2 separate regions of the Homo sapiens genome follow, and region 2 is linked to region 1. The links are contacts of gene promoters, found by promoter capture Hi-C in blood cells and fetal thymus (Javierre and others, 2016). All regions are on one chromosome and are shown on one strand. Each heading gives the region's core, a stretch centred on a gene start or on the middle of the fragment in contact. The rest is flanking DNA. Distances are from core to core; before and after follow the strand shown. Region 1 holds the start of CERS6-AS1 (CERS6 antisense RNA 1). Region 2 overlaps G6PC2 (glucose-6-phosphatase catalytic subunit 2).

What was found. The method cuts DNA at HindIII sites, captures the fragments that hold promoters and counts their contacts. A CHiCAGO score of 5 or more calls a contact.
Region 2: a contact is called between a fragment that was not itself captured here and the fragment with the promoter of CERS6-AS1 in region 1, in 1 of 17 cell types (endothelial precursors). The highest score is 5.6, in endothelial precursors.

What each region holds. Positions count from the first base shown.
Region 1 is chr2:168,784,503-168,787,934 of GRCh38, forward strand. It overlaps CERS6-AS1 (CERS6 antisense RNA 1), which reads right to left and starts at 1,927. Exons shown (of 3, transcript NR_045787.1): 1 at 1,855-1,927. It also overlaps a transcript of NOSTRIN not described here. The HindIII fragment of the contact is 3,155 bases long and covers 283-3,432 here.
Region 2 is chr2:168,907,857-168,911,288 of GRCh38, forward strand. G6PC2 (glucose-6-phosphatase catalytic subunit 2) reads left to right here. Exons shown (of 5, transcript NM_021176.3): 5 at 1-2,144. The coding sequence ends at 223. Among named protein-coding and RNA genes, the nearest start is that of G6PC2, 8.3 kb to the left of the region's middle. RefSeq lists an enhancer at 87-882. The HindIII fragment of the contact is 5,946 bases long and covers 1-3,432 here.

The DNA of each region.
Region 1 (3,432 bases), core at 677-3,176:
GCAAACACTCCCCAGCACAGTAAAGATTTGACCCCAGACCGGAGTGATTCCAAAACTTACACGTACTCATTCTGGTTCATTACACAGATTCCAGTGTTTGCATTTGTTTCTGAAGATGTGGGCTGCCAAGATTTCTACTGCATTTCAAATTCTCCATTGGCTTTTTTTTTTAATCTACCTCCGTTAATTTTTCTTACAGATCTAGTTTTTCCTCCTGTAGTTTTCATCTCTATCTTCCCTCTTTTTGGCGTCATATTGTATAGTCCTTTCAACTATATTGGAAGCTTTTCTTGGGGAAGACCCCCAATAAATCAAATACATCAATAACTGAACTCAATTTTTCAAGTTCACTGTATCAGTCTAATTCACAAAGGGCACATCTCCTTCCTCAGTCTAACCCTGGGAACTTGCAAGGGCAAACATAACCCAGAACACAGGTTCAAAAAGAACCAGTACAAGCAATTCAGTCATTCAATACATTGCAGACTGAAGAATGGAAGCGATCTAGGTAGTAACGCTAGTTTTTTAGGGATCTGGGTTTTAAGAATGGGCTGAAAGACTCATAGGGAAAAAGTCCCAGGGGTGGGTAGTAGGTGAGGGATGAAATGCTACAAAGCGAGTTTATTTTCTGTAACTTGAGTTATAGGAAATAAAAGAGCAGTTCCCAGCCCTCCTCTTTTTGAGTCATAGCTGTTAATTTGATTCATCAGGACTGAACTCTTGGCTCTGGCCAAAGTTCCTGACCCAGAGTGCTAGTTACTGTCTGGCAAGCCATCAAGCAATCCTATGTTAGATTTCAGACTAATTGGAGCTATGTCACCAAAGATGAGTTCAAAAGGGTCCCTAGAGTTTTTAAGAGCAAAGAGTATTGTTTTTCTCTCAGCTGAGGGTACTAGATGGTACATAGAACTGAGCCCTGATGTACTACACTTCTAGTGCTGCCATTTCTTAGTTGTATCACTTAGAAGTCATTTCTGAGGAGTTATAAAATAGTTTGCACTATGCTAACCAGTAGTTTACACTATGCTACATGTACCAAATTGTTTACCCACAGAGCCAGAACACTAATGAAAGCAGTAAAATGCACATCAACATTAAGTCAATAAATGTATTGAGCACCAATCGTTCGAGACATTATGTTAGGCTTTGTGAGGAGTATGAGGAAGTCAGGGGCAAAGCTGCTGCATTGAAGGGGGTCTCAATACAGTTAGGGAGGTAGGCCACAGGCAGAAGTTATTAGCTCTAAAGATTTTTTTTTTTTTTTAAGACAGAGTCTCACTCTGTTGCCCAGGCTGGAGTGCAGTGGCACGGGATCTCAGCTCACTGCAACCTCTGCCTCCCAGGTTCAAGTGATTCTCGTGCCTCAGCCTCCTGAGTAGCTGGAATTACAGGTGCATGCCACCACACCCAGCTAATTTTTTTGTATTTTTAGTAGAGATGGGGTTTCACCATATTGGCCAGGCTGGTCTTGAACTCCTGGCCTCAAGTGATCCACCTGCCTCGGCCTCCCAAAGTGCTAGGATTACAGGCATAAGCCACTGCACACGGCCAGCAAAAGGCTTTTAAAAATAAAAATAAAATCTATAGATATAAGACATTGGTATCATCGTTATATCAAATATGTTGTGAGAATAGTAATTGCCAGAAAAGTTCAGAGGAGAGAGAGGTTGTGTTATAGTAGTCAGGCAGACATCAGCAGGCCAGGAGAGGGCTGCACGCCCAACCAGGAATGTCAGACGACCATCAAGTGATGGTCAGGTGGTTGTTACACTGTTACAATCATTATTTCTCTAAAACAATAATTAGTCACAGCCAGCACGAGGGAAAGGCAATCTCCCGACAGACAGAAAAAACCTGAAACTGGTTATCAGCAGCGTCCCAATAAGATCTCAGGTGTTAGGTAAGTGGGCTCAAGCATGCGCACTATGAGGCAAAATGGGGGAGTTTAACTGGTATATGACCTTCCTCTAGGAACGTTAGATTGGTAATAGAAGAACGTCTCAAGTGAGCATGCGTATAACTCCCGTAAACACACTGCGCATGCAGCCCTTCCCAAGCACTGGTAGGGCACTGGGCATGCAGACAGCCCACCAGAAGGGAAGAATCAGGAGAAAAGGGATGCAAGATCCCAGAGGTATGCCAATATATAAAACCCTAAGGCAAAGGTCAAGCCAGCCACTTGATCCCTCAAGTGGCCAGCTTGGCCCTCCTCGAAGTGTACTTTACTTCCTTTCGTTCCTGCCCTAAAACCTTTTAGTAAACTTTCACTCTTGCTCTAAAACTTGCCTCAGTCTCTCAGTCTGCCTTATTTTTCCTCGGTCAAATTCTTCCCTGCCTCCCCCCTCCTCCAGAGTAGCTGGGACTACAGGCGCCCGCCATCACACCTGGCTAATTTTTTGTATTTTTAGTAGAGACGGGGTTTCACCATGTTGTTCAGGCTGGTCTCGAATGCCTGACCTCAAGTGATCCACCTGCCTCAACCTTCCAAAGTTCTGGGATTACAGGCGTGAGCCACCACACCCGGCCCCAAATTCTTTCTTCTAAGGAGCTAAGAATTGAGTTCGCTGCGGACCCATAAGGATTCGCTGCTCGTAACAGCTGCTTCTGGGATCAGGTAAGAAAAGGTTTCAAGCAGAAAGCTAGGAAGAATGAATAGTATTTGAATGAGTCAAGTGGAAAGAGGAAAGGCATTTGAGACAAAGGGCATAGCGTGAAGCAGTGAGGCAGCCTCCACCCCACTTCCTACCACCTGTTCTCCCCCTTAGTGGCCTGACCTTGACCTTCCACTCCATCCTCATCCCTCCCCATGGGCACTGTCTCAGAATGTGCCATGCCTGTGACAGCTCCAGGACTCTGGCCATACTGCTTACACTGCCACAGAGACCTCTTTCCTCTTCTTCTTCATGTCGCTAACTCTTACTTGGCCTTGAAGACTAATTTGTGTTAGAAGTTAGTCTTCCCAGAAAGCCTTAGCCTTTGGGAATTTGGTGCTCTTCCTTGAGAAGAAAAGGTACAACCATTTAACTCCATCAGAACACTTATCACACGGCCTTCCCCACTGGACTCAATGGAAGCATCTTGAGGGCAAAGGCCTTACCTTTTATAGCTGATCCTTATCAGCCACAGTGTCCACTACACAGCAGGTGCCCAATAAATTCCTGTAGAATGAATATGCATTTACAGAAAGAGGAGCTGTGAGAAGATGCCTCAGTTTTTGGAAAGGAAAAATGGGTTGATTTTTACATTTTGAATTTAAGCTGATGAGAGTCCTTTCATGTGGACATGTCTAACAAAAATTGGAAGTAGAAGACTGAAACTGGAGGCTGTTGTGATTTTCATTTTTTTTAATTTTTTTCAGATAAACTGAAGCACAAGAGGGTAAAAACTTTGTCCTTGGTCTTACAGCCAGAAAGTGGTGATGCAAAGAACTTA
Region 2 (3,432 bases), core at 685-3,184, 120 kb after region 1:
CCGAGGGGGAAATAACTACACACTGAGCTTCCGGTTGCTCTGTGCCTTGACCTCATTGACAATACTGCAGCTCTACCATTTCCTCCAGATCCCGACTCACGAAGAGCATTTATTTTATGTGCTGTCTTTTTGTAAAAGTGCATCCATTCCCCTAACTGTGGTTGCTTTCATTCCCTACTCTGTTCATATGTTAATGAAACAAAGCGGAAAGAAGAGTCAGTAGAGTGGTGCCTAGAGTTAGTGCTCTGTGTCACAGATCACCCTTCTCCATCCACCAGTAGAGCCACAGAGTAGGCACAGACCAGAGGCTTCTAATCCGACTTCACAGAATAGCGGCACAGGCCCCATTCCCCATAGAGATGTTTAGTTTGGCCTTCGCACTGGTCTTTTTTTTTAATCCTTCAGTTACCAATATTTAGATACAAGAATATTTGACATAAAAATCGGAAGTTCTGTATTTCTTGAAAAATCTGATAGTATGACAACACAGAGCCTGCATCCCCAGCTGGAGACAACTGACCAGAGCTGCATACTAACAGTCCCCAGTAGGAGGCAAGGACTCCATTTTCTCACAGTCTTCAGCATCCCAGCAGGAGCCCCACTATGATTCCTTTATCTTCTTAAGGCCAGGCTGCATCTGATTCCTGTTGACATTTTAGTGGGGACCACAGCCATATCCAGTTTCAGTTTTCAGATGAGGAAATGGAAGCCTATTTAGGTAAAAGAACTTGCCTGGAGTCACGCCACCTTCAGAGCAGGAATTAGAACCCAAGGCTTCTGACACATATCCCCATTACACTGTGTGTTTGAGTGTGCACACATGCACATGCTTTTTGTTTGTATGTTTCCTTTTTAGAACCAGGGACTTGCTCTGTTGCCCAGGCTGGAGTGCAGTGGTGGATAGCGGCTCACTGCAGCCTCAAACTCCTGGCTCAAATGATCCTCCCTCCTCAGCCTCCCATTAGCTAAGACTACAGGTGTGCACCACCATGCCTGGCTAATTTTTGAATATTTTTTAGAGCCAGCTTCTTACTATATTTGCCCAGGCTGGTCTTGAACTCCTGGCCTCAAGGAGTTCCCTTGAGGATGTTCCACCCATGTCAGCCTCCCACAGTGCTGGGATTGCAGGCTTGAGCCATTGTATTAATAGTTGGCCTACACTGTCTTTTGTTTCTTCATTTACAAGAGGTAAAAATCAGTAAGAATGAATGCTTTCATTTAGATTCTATGATGACTGCCATATAAATCAGCTACCTTTTCAGAAATGACATTGAAATACTGCATCCTCTTTGACTTATACCCCACACATACATGCAGGGTCTAGGTGGGACCAACAGTGGCTCCAGATGTATATACACACGGGTCCAGGGACAACAGAACAGGCCAGGCTACAGTATGGACTTGAACCTCTGCTTCACTTCTGGTCTCTGTTTTACAGTAGTGCTCACCAATATTTCAATAAATTCTACTGAACTTACTCTAATAGAACATTATTCAACCCCCAAAGACTTATCTCTTCACTATGACATCTCCATACTTTATTTTTAGGAGACAGACTTTCAAAACCAGAGAAATCAGGTGCCTTCCTCAAGGTCATGCTCCAACCCAGGCCAACTATTAAATGCTTGCATCTGTTAGCTGGATTAGTCTCTATGTATACTGAACTGTGATGAAAATCTATAGCTTTGTTTTAGAAAATTATTGTTGATGGACTATTAATATTATATTAACAATTTCTCAGTAAGTGTGTTTTTTCCTCATTGAATCTAGGAATGCTGGGCTTTAAGTTGATAACTGTGTCATTTCAATCAAGTACAAGGATTTTGAGGCAGATTTTGCTAGATATCTTAGTAATCCCCCACAATGTTTTATGTAACTCTTCTCAGAATATCAATACATTAATTATTTTAGATGACATATTAAATAATCTATGAATATTAATGAAAACAATACAGTTGAAGTGAGTGTTGTTTAACATGATAGTAGCTGAGGATAACAAACCTCAAAAAATCAAAGTATTAATTACTCCTTTCCAAGTATATGTATAGAGCATGTGTCATTGCTTTTATAAAACGCACTTAATAGCTTTCTTTCTAAAAGGCAACTGAACTTTCTAAAAGGTAAATAAACTGAACTTGATATTAGTGGTTCGGTGATTCCAAAGCAAAAAGCTGAGGGATTAAGAAAGAATAGCTTAAGAATGAAATTTGTCTCATGTTGCTGGGACATTTGGGATGAAAGAAGTAGAGAAGAATGATTCTTCAGGTGATGACCGTTGCTCATTGGTTCAGTCCCACCCTATGTCCCACCATGCTGTACCTTTAGATGCCTTCACATTTCATGATACATTTGTGTCATTACATCTTCCACACATCAGAGATCTCATTCCTGTCTAAAAGCCCTTTGCCAAATTTCACATAAGATAATGTTAGTCTTGAAGGATTCTGGTACATCCCCTTCATCCTAGTACAATCTCAGCCTGCTTTCAGCAAGGCCTGAGGAAACCGGCATTAATAGCCAGGGAATTCTGCAGCAATGATTGACTCTACCATAAATCCGTTCTCCGTTTCCATGGAGAAAGCTATCTTCAGCCACCCCATGGTGCTGTCTGTTGGGCAACACATTACCCTCAGAGGGGACTGGGATGAAGTGTGGGCTTGTTTTCTATAATTAATCCCCAAGAACTCTGCCCCTATCTTCCATAAAAACCCCAGAGTCCCCATGGGAGTAGATTTCCCTCTTTATTCTAGTTGAAGTCTCCTGGAGGGATCCATATGGTGGTAAATTGTTTTTGCAATTGAAACGCCTTAGGCAGCAAGAGGAATCGTTTTTCACAGCCTTGGAGAAAATGCCTGCCCTTAATAATGATGGAAAAGACTCTTCTGTTTCCAATTTATTTGTCAGAAGTAAGTGGAATTGAGCTCATTAAATACTGTTACTATAACCATATATTCAAAATGTCTACCTATCTACATATTCAGGAGAAAAATGTCAATACCATGAGCTTTTAGGATGAGAAAATCTAGACAAGAAAATCTGACTCAAGAGAAAATCTGACTCAAGAAACTGTCCAATCAAACCTACATTTGGAAAAAAAATACAAAATAATTTATTATTGCTGAAACTAGCTATCAGGAAGAATATTAGTTCCTTTCCTTTGACAACCTATTGATTGGACATCTGCCTAAGAAGGTTAAGTTGGTGCCTTCTTTAGACATATTTCATTATAAAACAGATGGTGATTAAAAGAATTGTTATAAGATGTCCTTGAAACTAAAAGTCAAATGTTGAAATGCTTTACATTTTTTCAAAATTTTTAAATAAATTCAAGATCAAATTGGTACATACATACAAAAATCTTGGTTTAAGAAAAAGTCAAGTGACTTGGTTCTAAAAATGAGATTCTTTTCTTAAGTATTTTAAAACTGTATA